2 separate regions of the Homo sapiens genome follow, and region 2 is linked to region 1. Evidence: promoter capture Hi-C in human tissues and cell types (Jung and others, 2019). All regions are on one chromosome and are shown on one strand. The core of a region is centred on a gene start or on the middle of the fragment in contact, and the rest is flanking DNA. Distances in the headings are between cores, read along the strand shown. Region 1 holds the start of ALAD (aminolevulinate dehydratase). Region 2 overlaps LOC105376223 (a long non-coding RNA gene).

The links. The method cuts DNA at HindIII sites, captures the fragments that hold promoters and counts their contacts. A contact is called where the count stands out against the background at its distance.
Region 2: a contact is called between a fragment that was not itself captured here and the fragment with the promoter of ALAD in region 1, in 1 of the 25 tissues and cell types used here (IMR-90 fibroblasts).

What each region holds. Positions count from the first base shown.
Region 1 is chr9:113,397,350-113,403,887 of GRCh38, forward strand. ALAD (aminolevulinate dehydratase) reads right to left here and starts at 3,935. Exons shown (of 12, transcript NM_000031.6): 1 at 3,863-3,935. RefSeq lists an enhancer at 3,091-3,671 and silencers at 3,687-3,736, 3,887-4,246. The HindIII fragment of the contact is 12,556 bases long and covers 1-6,538 here.
Region 2 is chr9:113,667,462-113,673,999 of GRCh38, forward strand. All of the region lies in intron 2 of LOC105376223 (a long non-coding RNA gene), which reads left to right. Among named protein-coding and RNA genes, the nearest start is that of ZNF618, 210 kb to the right of the region's middle. The HindIII fragment of the contact is 8,145 bases long and covers 162-6,538 here.

The DNA.
Region 1 (6,538 bases), core at 2,685-5,184:
GCCCCTTTAGCTGCCTTCAGCCATCTCAGGGGCCCATTTTATCCAGTCTTCCTCCTTGGTAGGGTGGGGTTATCACAAGTCACACAGGGGCCAGCCCTGCTGCCACACCCCTGGGTGGGCCAGCCCCATCACCTAACACAGGGGCAGGCCAGGCCTCCCCAGTCATGTCTCAACCTCCAAACAGACAATTATTCAGTAGATATGAGGTCCCAGCTGCCCATTTCGTACTCGATTTTGCTCTCATGTCTGCCAGGAGTTTTTTTTCCTTTTCTTTTTTTTTTTTTTTTTTTTTTGAGACAGAGTCTGGCTCTGTCACCCAAGCTGGAGTGCAGTGGTTCGATCTCGGCTCACTGCAACCTCCACCTCCTGGGTTCAAGTGATTCTCCTGCCTCAGCCTCCCAAATAGATGGGACTACAGGCATGCATGACCATGCTTGGCTAATTTTTGTATTTTTAGTAGAGACAGGGTTTCGCCATGTTGGCCAGGCTGGTCTCAAACTCCTGACTTCAAGTGATCCGCCCGCCTCTGCCTCCCAAAGTGCTGGGATTACAGGCGTGAGCCACCGCACCTGGCCGAGAGAATATTTTTGCATATTGAGAGAATTACCAAAATGTAAGCCAGTTGCCCAAGACCACATAGCTACTTAGTGACTGAGCCAGAATTTGAATTTGTTCTGGACTCCAAATGCTGGGTTTTATATACTGTATTTCATAATACTGATAAACACCTGATTCAGTAGGCGTCTCTCTGCCCATACTGTTTCTGCTTTGGGTGCTGGAGAGACAGAAGAAACAAAAGAAAAACATACTGAGTGTATTCGTTCTGTGCTGGGCACAGCACTGAAGTACTTGGTAGTAGTATCTCATTTCATTGCAAGAATTGTCCTAACTTTTAGTGATAAGGAAACAGAGGCTCTGAGCGGTTCAGTGACTTGCTTAATGCCATTCTAGAGTCTAGTCAGATGTTGAAGAGAGGTCTAATCTCTCTGACTCACTTCCCACAAACAATCTCTGTTGTTTTCTGGCTTCTGAATCCAAAGCTGCATTCCACTGGCCTCAACTCCCCATCGCTTTTAGGAGGCTGAGGGAACAACTGGCTCCTGCTTAGCAGAAACCCTGGGGCAGGACTGCCTAGGAGCCTGAGACCGGGGCAGGGTTAGAGTAAAGGGAACAGTCTCACTACAGCAGTCCACTTTGATCTGTTTTTGAATTTTAAGATTCAGAGACAGATTTGATTTGAGAAACGGCTGTCAGTGCTGAAAATATTAAAAGCTTGAAAATTGCCAATCCTGTTTAATCCCTTACACTTTAATGTGGAAAATGGGGTATAAAGAGGCAACGGGACTTTTGGAGATCACAGTGAGTGACATACAGAGCTATAAACTGACCCTGCAGCTCCTGGCTTCTATTTCAGTGCCCTGATACCTACACCATAGAGTCATTCCATTGTAAGAGGTACTTAATAAGTGGAGTTTCCCACTCCATTCTGTGAGTGGGAAAACACCCCCTGAATCACATATTGGCAGAGCCAAATGCAGGGTGGGTTTTGCTTTGCAAAAAGGCCCTTAGAGTTTGGGAGAATTTCACAGACTGGGAGGGCACTTCTCCCAAATCAAGCGAGCTTGCAAACCACAATTTAAATGCCTGTGACATTACCACACTGAAGACAGGAGCGAGCCGCCAGGAGGTCCAGCACCTCTGCCCAACCACATCAGACAGGTTAGCTTTGCTGGGACGCAGAGTATAGGGCGGTGCAGAAAGATCCATGTTTCAGGGTCAGACAGTCCCAGGTTTGGTCTATGCTCTGCTGTGTAATTTTGGGCAAAGTAATTGACCTTTCAGTGTTCATTTCATAATCTACAAAATAGGCATGATATCTCTAACTTGCAAGGCTGTGGAGATTATTGATAGGGATAAGGTAGGTGTCTGGCACCAAGTAGCTGCACAGTAAACATGTAGCTACTTTTATTACTATTAGGAGTGGGGCTGGGTTGGAACGAGATGTCCTGGCACAGCTCTGTGCCTTCTGCACCTCACCAGATGGGAATATGAGCTCAAACCCTTGTGGGCCACAGGGTTTTCCAAGATTTCTGAAGTGGAGTCCCTGCCTTCCAGCAGGTTATGTGGTGGAGGAAAAACAAAATAATCACCACCGGGCTGCCAGAGTAGAGGGGTGGACCAGGTGCTGTCAGAGGGACTGTGTCTCTGAGTCAAGGGTGGTTTCATGGAAGAGGGGACAGTGAAGGATAAGAAGTGTTTCAGATTTAATATGAAAGTATCTCCTCCCATGGAAGGCAACATCCCCAAACTGGGAGTAACTGAAGTTGGGCCCTGAGCACTGCTACCAGGAGGGGCTATGAGCTTCATGTGCCACCCCCCACCCCTGCAAGTTGTACTATGCTGAGGATTCCAGAGGCTGTGGGTCTTCGCACAGAGGCTTAGGACCTGCTGCCAGCCCTGGCAGGCTCTGCCACTGGCCAGGGAGGAGGCAGTCAGGAGAGCCAGCTAGATAGAAGGTGGCCAGAACTGAGAAATCCAAAGCCCCACAAAGGCCCAGGAGAGCAGCTGTCATGCAGTTCTGAAAAGAGATGAAGTGTTTATTCAGCCAACCCACATTTCTTGAATATCTACTATGGGCCTGCTGAAGTGCTAGACACAGGGATTAAAGAGAAGAATGAGACCCCAGCCTTGCCCTGGGGCTTTGAAGAGCCTGATCGCCTCTGGGGTTAGCCATTTAGACGTAGGAGAAGCTGCCATTCCCAGAATCCTAGAATATCTTGGCTAAGAGTCTTCTTAAAGTTTGCTGATTGTATCACTGAAACAAGGGTGAAACTGGGCTCAGAGAGGGGTAGACACAGGCCCAGGATCACGCAGTGGGTCAGCGGCAGATCTGGGGGAAGGTCTCCAGCAGCCCAGTCCTCAGTGCCCACCATGACACCTCCATACTTTAAGGATAGATATCAAATCTGTTTCCCAGCAGGTTGGGCTTGTGGAGAGCTTTGGGTGAGCCAGACTCTGGGCCTGGCTGCTGTTGGTAGCAGGATGGTTAAGTATGTGGGCTCTGGAGTCTGATAGATGTGGGTACAAATCCTAGTTCTGTAGCTTTCTAGTTGTGTGACCTCAGTTTCTTCGTTTAGTAAATGGGGACTAGAACCGACCTCAATGGGTTGTTGTAAGAAATGAATGGGTCAGGCCGGGCGTGGTGGCTCACGCCTGTAATCCCAGCACTTTGGGAGGCCGAGGTGGGCGAATCACCTGAGCTCGGGAGTTCGAGACTAGCCTGACCAACAGGGAGAAACCCCATCTCTACTAAAAATACAAAAATTAGCAGGCGTGGTGGCACACGCCTGTAATCCCAGCTAGTTGGCAGGCTGAGGCAGGAGAATCGCTTGAACCCGGGAGGCGGAGGTTGCAGTGAGCTGAGATCGCGCCATTGCACTCCAGCCTGGGCAACAAGAGCGAAACTCCGTCTCAAAAATAAATAAATAAATAAAATAAATGAATGGTCAATGCACGCAACGCTTAGTACAAAACGGCTGTTATTGTTTTCACCTCCCTACCCCCCCACCAACCACCACCCGCACCTCGGGTTCTGCATCGATGGAGTCTGCCCAGGCGGTATCCGAGAGGGTGAACCCCAGAGAAGAGGTGCGGAGCCCCGAACCCGGGCCCCCAACCTCGGCTGCAGCGGGATAATCCAGCCCAAACAAACGCTCCACGGGACTCCGTGCACGGCTGCACCGCCAGGGCTTCAGGCGCACAGCACAATCTGGGGACGCAGGACTCTTGGTGCCACAGTCCCCGCCTCGCCCTGGAGCCGCCCTCCAGGCCCGCTATCTCCCCGCATCCAGCCCCCGCTCACCTGCCTCCCTAAGGGCTCCCGGCCGCTGCTCCTGTCACCGCTGTCTCCCGCTCCGGTCTCCCACAGACCGCGTAAGAGCGGGGGGGGCTCACCCGGAAGCAGCTTCCCCACGGTCCGCCCCCTCCACAGTCCAGGCCACGCCCCCTGAAGGCGGTCTTCTGGGGGGCTCCTCCGCTCCAGCCGCGGCCCCGCCCACACGCAACGAGGCCTGGCCAATTGGGTGTGTCGAGGGCCTGGAGGGCCCGCCCGTCCCCGCTCCGGGCCCTGCGCTTGTGCAGCGAACTGCAGGAGGGAGGCCACGAGGGGGCGCAGGAACCGCTTGGGAGGGTCCCTGGGTGTGAGCCGGCCTCGGAGGCGGTTACAGCCCAGGTTTCACTTCACAGCATTCCTTTGCCCAGCCTAGGGCAAACTTGGCTCTGGTTAATGGCTTGGTGAAAGAATAATTGGATGTCAAAGCCGTTAAAACAGCACCATTATGCCTAACACAGTATTAGCTAAGTCCATTTTTGCGGACTAAGCTAAAGTTGTTGAGTTCAGCGCCAGGCTTCCAAGTTTTCAGAGAAAATTTGTACCAGCTTCATTTATTTCTCAGGGTACGGCAATGCTATGAGTTGAGAGATGTGATGTGAAAGACATGGGCGTTTAGGAAAACTCCAAGTCTTGATAGGGGCATCAGACCTATGATAGGTACAATGATAGATCCGATCAAAGGTCTTTATGGAGATTGGAGATGTGCAGAGGCAAGAGGGATCTGGTGAGGCTTATGGGGCCTGGGTAAACCAGTAGGATTGGATGAGTAAAATGGCGATCGGGCATCATCGCCCTAGCGAAGCAATGCCTTTCAGGTGGTTCTTCAGGGATTATTGAAAAGTTGACTTTCAAATGTAGAGGACACTAGTGGGTTACATTACACTTATTCTCAGATTTTATTTCTCAGCCCGGTTCGGTGGCTCACGCCTGTAATCCCAGCACTTTGGGAGGCCAAGGCGGGCGGATCTCTTGAGGTCAGGAGTTCAAGACCAGCCTGACCAACATGGTGAAACCCTGTCTCTACTAAAAATACAAAAAATTAGCCGGGCGTGGTGGCGGGCTCCTGTAATCCCAGCTACTCGGGAGGCTGAGGCAGGAGAATCGCTTGAACCCGGGAGGCGGAGGTTGTAATGGGCTGAGATCATGCCACTGCATTCCAGCCTGGGTGACAGAGGGAGACTCTGTCTCAAAAAAAAATTTTTTTTTAAATTTCTCAAAATCTGTACCCCAAACCTGTTGTATACTTTATATTTTAAATTTAAGGGGCCTAGCGGCGTAAGGCTAGGGAAATATGACACTGCTTAGTTTCCAGCTACTGGAGTTCTGATCTGTATTCAACAAGGAAGGGGATAGAAAGCAAATAATGTTTGCTGTGCATTAAAGAGTCAGGGACAGTACCATGCATTTTACATTCATTTATCTAATCTTGACAGCAACGATGTTACTATTCTCACTTTACGGATTGGGAAAACAATTGCCAGCTAGATTAAATAATTTGCCCCATGTTACACTGGGCTCTCTCTGCAATGCCTGCTAATAACCACACTCCATAGGGGCAATTATTATTTGTTTTTTCCTAGATTCCCTGCCCGACATTTCTTTCCTGACACTCATTCCTTCCCTGAGGTTATTGGTAACTAAAAATAATTAGAACCATCTAAGAACCCAAATAGAACGGGAAATTTTAAAATGTTGCTGTTTGGTGTAGCTTATTTCCCCCATGTCTTTTCTTCTTCTTGACTGAAAGACCTGTTCCCACTCTCCCCCCAGCCTCCACCTTTTGAAACATTTTACCTTAATCTTTCAGTATTGTGAATGCAATAATATGAATAAATCTTAAACATATTGTTGAGTAAAAGAAGTGAGACACAAAATAGTATATAATATGATTTCATTTATATTAACTACACAATCAAGCAAAATTAAGCTGTGTTGTTAGGACTCAGAATAGTGATTTCCACTGGGGAGATGGGGAGGATTGAAAGGGAGATTAGGCTGGGTGTGGTGGCTCACACCTGTAATCCTAGCACTTTGGGAGGCCAAGGCTGGTGGATCGCTTGAGCCCAGGAGTTCAAGACCAACCTTGGCAACATGGCGAAACAGTCTCTACAAAAATTACAAAAAGTAGCTGGGCATGGTGGTGGACACCTGTAGTCCCAGCTACTTGGGAGGCTGACATGGGAGGATTGCTTGAGCCTGGGAGGTCAAGGCTGCGGTAAGCTGTGATCGTACCACTGCACTCCAGCCTGGATGACAGAGCAAGACCCTGTCTCCAGAAAAAAAAAAAAAAAAAAAAAAAAAAAAGGCGGCAGGGGGAGACTAAAGAGGTTTCTTTGGATGCAGTTAATGTTTATTGGTCTGGGTGTGAGTTACATGGCTGTGTTTAATTCGTGAAAATTCATTAAGCTCCACACTTATTTGTGTCTTTTAGTATGTATATTTCGTTTCAATAAAAAGTTAAAACTAAACTATTCTGAGTGTCTTCTAGGTAGGTATATGGCATTGTGCTAAATGCTGTGAAAAGCATAAAAAAGGAACAAGAAAGAAAGCAGACTGCTGATTGCCAGGGCCTGAGGAAAATGTTTTGAAACTAGATAGAGGTAGTGGTTGCACAACATTGTGACTGTTCTAAATGCCACTGAACTG
Region 2 (6,538 bases), core at 2,984-5,483, 270 kb after region 1:
TGCTCTGTCACCCAGGCTGGAGTGCAGTGGCTCGATCTCGGCTCACTGCAAGCTCTGCCTCCCAGGTTCATGCCATTCTCCTGCTTCAGCCTCCCGAGTAGCTGGGACTACAGGCGCCCGCCACCAAGCCCGACTCATTTTTTTGTATTTTTAGTACAGATGGGGTTTCACTGTGTTAGCCAGGATGGTCTTGATCTCCTGACCTCGTGATCCGCCCGCCTCGGCCTCCCAAAGTGCTGGGATTACAGGTGTGAGCCACTGCACCAGGACTTTTTTTTTTTTTTTTGACAGAGTTTCACTCTTGTTGCCCATGCTGGAGTGCAGTGCAATGGCACGATCTCGGTTCACCACAACCTCTGCCCCCCAGGTTCAGGAAATTCTCCTGCCTCAGCCTCCTGAGTAGCTGAGATTACAGGCATGCCCCACCATGCCTGGCTAATTTTGTATTTTTAGTAGAGACGGGGTTTCTCTGTGTTGGTCAGGCTGGTCTCGAACTCCTGACCTCAGGTGATCCGGCTGCCTCGGCCTCCCAAAGTGTTGGGATTACAGGCGTGAGCCACCGCCACCGACCATCTTTCTGTTTTTATCAGACTCAGCTACAGAGAGCAAAGGTACTCATCTCCCAGCCCCTGGCACATTCTCACTGTTGAACTGCACACAACCTTTTTTGTGGGTTTGGGTTTTTTTTTTTTTAACCTTTTTCTCATTTATCCCTGATTCCCACCACCATTCTGTTTCCCCCATGGGCATTTTCCCTCATGTATTTGATATATGTTCTTAAATATGCATGAATCCTTATAAAACATGTTGTGCTATTCTGTGTATATCTGCTTTTAATTAACATGACTAATTCCGTGCCGTAGCTCTCAGTCTGGTTTTTTTTTTTCTTTCCTCTCTTAGCACCGAAGTATATTCAATGGTCTGTAATAGTTGCTTATAACCATGCACAATGTTTTTCCATGGTGAGAATTCACCACATTTTTCTCATGCATTTCTTCAGCAATGGACACCCTGGTGGTCTCAAAGTCCCTGATCCTCCAAACTACACTGCTGGAGTAGCCTCAAGGGGCGGCAGGGCTTCTTTTTGTACCATAAGATGCGAGACGCAGGGTGTGAGAGGAGATGTCTCTGAGATAGACATCCAGGAGAGGTCACGCTGGGTTGTGAATAAATATTTAATGTCCTTAACTGCCAGGGCCCTATAGCCCAAATGGCACCTCCATGAAAACTAGAAAAAGCACAAAAACCAAAACAACAACACTAACAAAAAACCCCAGAAACACAACAAAATTGAAACAAACACAAAAGCCCTGCCTGCCCTTTGAGGCTCAGCTCACCGCTGTCTCCTAAGGGGCCGGATACCATTTCTTTTCTACTCTGAATGCCCCTGGCACATGGTCCCCTTTGCCTGGGAAACAGTGAGCTACTTGAAGGCAGAAAATCATATATTTGTCTCTTTCTTGCTTTCTCTCTCTCTTTCTCCTTCCTTCCTTCCTTCCTTCTTTCTTTCTTTTCTCTCTTTCTTTCCTCCCTCCCTCCCTCCCTCTCTCCCTCTCTCTCTCTCTCTCTCTTTCTCTTTCCTTCCTTCCTTCCTTCCTTCCTTCCTTCCTTCCTTCCTTCCTTCCTTCCTTCCTTCCTTCCTTCCTTCCTTCTCTCTCTCTCTCTCTCTCTTTCTTTCTTTCTTTCTTTCTCAGAGTCTTGCTCTGTTGCCCAGGCTGGACTGCAGTGGCGCAATCTCAGCTTACTGCAGCCTCCACCTCCTGCGTTCAAGTGATTCTCCTGCCTCAGCCTCCTGAGTCGCTGGGACTACAGGTGCGCACCATCATGCCTGGCTGATTTTTGTATTTTCATTAGAGATGGGGTTTCACCATGTTGGCCAGGATGGTCTCGATCTCCTGACCTTGTGATCCCCCTGCCTCAGCCTCCCAAAGTGTCGGGATTACAGGCGTGAGCCACCGCCTCCGGCCTATTTGTTGTCTTTCTACCAATTGCAATAGCAGGCCCTCATAAAAGCTTGCTGGACTGATTTTCTATTTCCTGACACTTCAGAGCAGCATGACCTCACCACATATTGATAAGCATGCCCACTACAGAAAAGGGGAAAATGATGGATTTGAGAATCAAGAATTGTAAGATTCTGGTCTCCTTGCTGTCACCAACCTGAAGGGTAACCATCAGCAAACAACTTTTCCTCTCCGGGTCTGAGTTTCCCAGTGGCAGCTCCTCTGTGACAGAGATAGGCTAGTTTCCCCCAAACCACTTCCCTTTTCCTCTTGGGCTTACATGTAGCCTGCATTACCCAGCCTCCTTGCAGTGAGGTGCAGGCCTGTCTTCAGGTTCTGGTCAATAGAATGTGGATGGAGGTGACATACTCTGCTTCCAGGCCTGATTTGTGAAAACCTCCTCATGCGAATCTCCACATTCTTACATCATCTGCTGGCCAGATGCAGAAAATCCCACAGCACCGCAAGCTAGAAGGAGCTTGGATCCCGAGTCACCCCCTGGAGGAGAGCCATCCAGGAGAGCTTTATAACCAGAAACACCCTTGGGGGATGGTTGTATGAGCAAAACTAAACTTTTATGGTGTTTTGCCTTTGAAAATTTTGAGGTTGGTTGTTACACTAGGTGCCCTCCTGATTAATCTATTTCCCTCAAGCCAGATTTCACCCAATAATTCCTTAATTTGTGTCATGCTTCTCCACTTTTCACAATTGATGTTTTGTGGCCCAGTTCTTTTATTCTACTCAAAAGTAGCTGAATAATCTGAAATAGCAATTGAGTATCCAAAAGGAGCCAATCTCAATGCTGGAGTTGCCCTGCATCCGCTCCCTACAATCCATCACTATCATGGAACCAAAAGGATCTCTCTGGAACCAAAAGGAAAAGGCAATTCCTCCAAAATACTTTCATGGTCTTCTGTTATCCTCAGAATGAAGCCAAAGGGCTCATGCCTACAAGGGCTACCAAAACTGGCTTTGTCTATTTCTTCTACTTCCTCTCCTCTGTTGAGTCCACGGTTCAGCTGCAAAAGCATTTCCTCTAACATGCCAGTCTCAGTGCCCAACACGGTAAGGACTAGGCCTTCAGGGTAACGCTGCACGCACCGCTAGCTGAGCCCAGGAGGCTCTTCCATCCCCTCCTCCTTATCTTGGGGGTGTGGCTTACAAGTCACTTTTCCTTAGGGGGTCTGGGCCCCCTGATCACTCGCTCTGGTCCACGCTCTTGCCCCACTGATGTGCTTACCACTCACAACATTCACTGCAGTTGTAATTACTTGTCCCCTGAACTGTCAGTGTCCTGAAGGAAGGACCAAGCCAGTCTTGCTTCTTGCTGAATCCCCACACCTGGCCCAGACCCTGGCTTGTTGTCCATGCTCTTAAGTATAGTCATGTGTCGCTTAACAAATGGGGATGCGTTCTGAGAAATGCGTCATTAGGTGATTTTGTGCAAATGTCATAAAAGTGTACTCACACAAACCTAGATGGTAGAGGCTGCCACACACCTAGGCTACATGGTCTAGCCTGTGGGTCCTAGGCTACTAACCTGCACTTGCGGCACTGTACTGAAGACTGTAGGTGACTGTAACACAATGGTAAGTATTTGTGTGTCTAAACATAGAAAATGGACGGTAAAAATGCAGTATTATCATCTGATGGGACCACCAACTTATATGCGGTCTGTCATCGACTGAAACGTCCTATGGCACATGACTGTAGTTGCTGAACAGGGGCATCAATAAATGACCCAATCCTGAGGGAACGAGTGGTTTGATTCCTGGGGAAGGGGTCGTATCCTGTGTCATCCTGGGGGGACAAATGGATTTCTTGGAAGGCATAGTGCCTCTCAAAGGAACAAAAAGGCCATCCTTGGATGCACTAGGTCCCCATGGGTGAGAGCGTTCGGTCCAGGGCTTCCCAGAGTGAATCTACAAAGCCAACACGCTCAGCGCCCACAGAGAGAGATCCCATACTGGTCACCAGTTTGGGCCACTGAGTTCTGGATCTCCCTCTGAACCCAAGACTTAATAACACACAAAAATAAAGCTGAAGGCCCAGGCAGGAAGGCGTGATGAGCGTTCACAGGGCGGACAGGCTGGGCATGGAGATCCTCTCCCACAACGGGCACACTTTCAGATGCACAAACTCATCTCCAGGCAATTGTTTTCTCCGTGAGTTCCCTTGAAGCAGCCATTTGCGTCTCTTGATCCCACACGCCGATGACCTTGTTAGGTCTTGTTAGATAGATGGAAGACTGTACTTGTGCCCTTTCTCTCTCTCTGGCTAATTACAATTTGCAAGTTGAGGTCCTTCAGGTGAATTAAAACAAGACACTTGACGATTAACTTAAATAACAAATAATGTCAGCTTGGCCATCTGCCGATGGCTGGCCCCCATCCTGACCACAGGTGCCATCAGCAAGAGGATCTGTTCTCTCAGCCCAGCAAGATCGTAAAAGCCCAGGCCAAGAGACCCCGGGACCCCGGAACACCAGTGCCCGGCACAGTAAGGACTCAGCCTTCATGGTAACGCTGCAGTCTCAGGTTGGTGACAGCTGCTCTGCCAGGCCCTTGTGGCCAAAATTTCAGGCCTGCCAGTTTATAAATTTTGTCCTTTTTCACCCAGTATTAAGAAAGCCTGTGTTCCTTGACCTATCACTGCTGTTGTGTCCACGGTTGGTATAAATATTGCCTTCCAATTACACAGAATTTTGAATTTTTGCTCAAAGCATTCGTTTGGTTACTTCACTCTCTTGTCTTTCCAAATCGTCCCTTTTCCCTCATCTGAGATTTCGTCTGGGCCACTCCCCAGGAGAGCAGGAGTGAGATGTGCTCAAACTCCTTTCCAGGACTTGTTACAGATCTGACGTGGGTGGATGGATGGGGCTGGGCCAGGCTAGACCTAGTAAAGGTCAGAGGCTATTGCTGCTGGAAGAGCTTTATTTATGGGCAGGAAGACTGAGGTCCCCAGGAGAGGAGTAGCACAGGGCTGCATGAGGGTAGAGCTGGGTTTGGGCTCACAGTGGCTACCTCCTGCACCAGGGCTCTATGCAGCATCCCAGCCACCCCAGCCACCCGCTCGGGCAGGAAGAGATGGCCAGGCCCCTTCCTGAGTGATCTAAGTTCTGAGCTTTGCAAAGACCCTCCTGGTAGGATCTCAATCTGGAGCAACGAACTGGAAGCCTAGGCCAGACCCCTTGCCATCCTATCGGTCTCCTTGGCTCCATGCCTGCAGTGGCCTCAACTGGCCCATGCCAGCTTGAGCTTCTGGCGAAGTGGGTCTGTTGTTGCTGGTTTCTGTTTGCCTAGCCCTCCTTCCCCTGATCACAGCAGCCCTTAACTTTTTTTCTTTTCTTTCTTTCTTTTTTTTTTTTTTTTTTTTTTGAGACGGAGTCTTGCTCTTTCACCCAGGCTAGAGTGCAGTGGCGTGATCTCGGCTCACTGCAACCTCCACCTCCCAGGTTCAAGTGATTCTCCTGCCTCACCCTCCTGAGTAGCTGGGACTACAGGTGCCCGCCACCACCCCCGGCTAATTTTTTTGTATTTTTAGTAGAGACGGGGTTTCACCGTGTTAGCCAGGATGGTCTCGATCTCCTGACCTCGTGATCTGCCTATCTCAGCCTCCCAAGGTGCTGGGATTACAGGTGTGAGCCACCTCACCCAGCCAGGTCAGGAGTTTTGAGCAGGCATGGTCTGTACTAAAATACAAAAATTTGCCGAGCATGGTGGCAGGTGCCTGTAGTCTCAGCTACTTGGGAGGCTGAAGCACGAGACTTGCTCGAACCTGGGAGGCAGAGGTTACAGTGAGCTGAGATCATGCCACTGCACTCCAGCCTGGGCAACAGAGTGAGACTCCATCTCAAAATAAATAAATAAATAAGTAAAATGTAGCCAAGTTTTGAAAACCACTGCTTCTTCCCCTGCCTCAGGGATGGGCCTGTGAACCAAAGTGGGTCCATCAGAGTCCTTCCCTGGGGGAATTTGCTATAGACAGAAGATGGTCCCCTTTAAAGGCTGTGAGGGGACTTATGTTAGCCAGCAGCACTCAGCCCCGCAGTCAGCCCCTGAGAGGCTGCTCCTGTCCTCAACCCTCTTCCCCGCTGTTCTGGGTCATGTGGAGCCCCCAGAATCACTGAGCTGCTTTCTGGACGTGCATCTTTGCATATGGTATTTCTTTCTCTTACCAGCGCTTCTTTCTCATGAAGTCTTACTTAACCTCAGAGATTCAATGGGCATTGCGTATTCTGGGAGAGCATCCTTGCTCCCACCCTGCCGTGGGCTGGGCTTGGGGCTACTCATCTGGACTCATGCTTGTGTGTTCTTCTCTGAGGGACTCAGCGCTGCCTTGTAATCATCTGTCTGCACACCTGTGCTCCCGCAGGCTGCGGGCTTCCCTAAGGCAGAGTCTGTGCCCTGTTCTGATGTATCCTCCTATGTTTAGCTTGCAATCTTTGCTTCGTGAATGAGTCATTTTTTAGCTCCCAGGAGCACTGGGGGGATCACCTAGCAACAGGGGCAGGAGCAGGAGCTCATCTGCTTCTC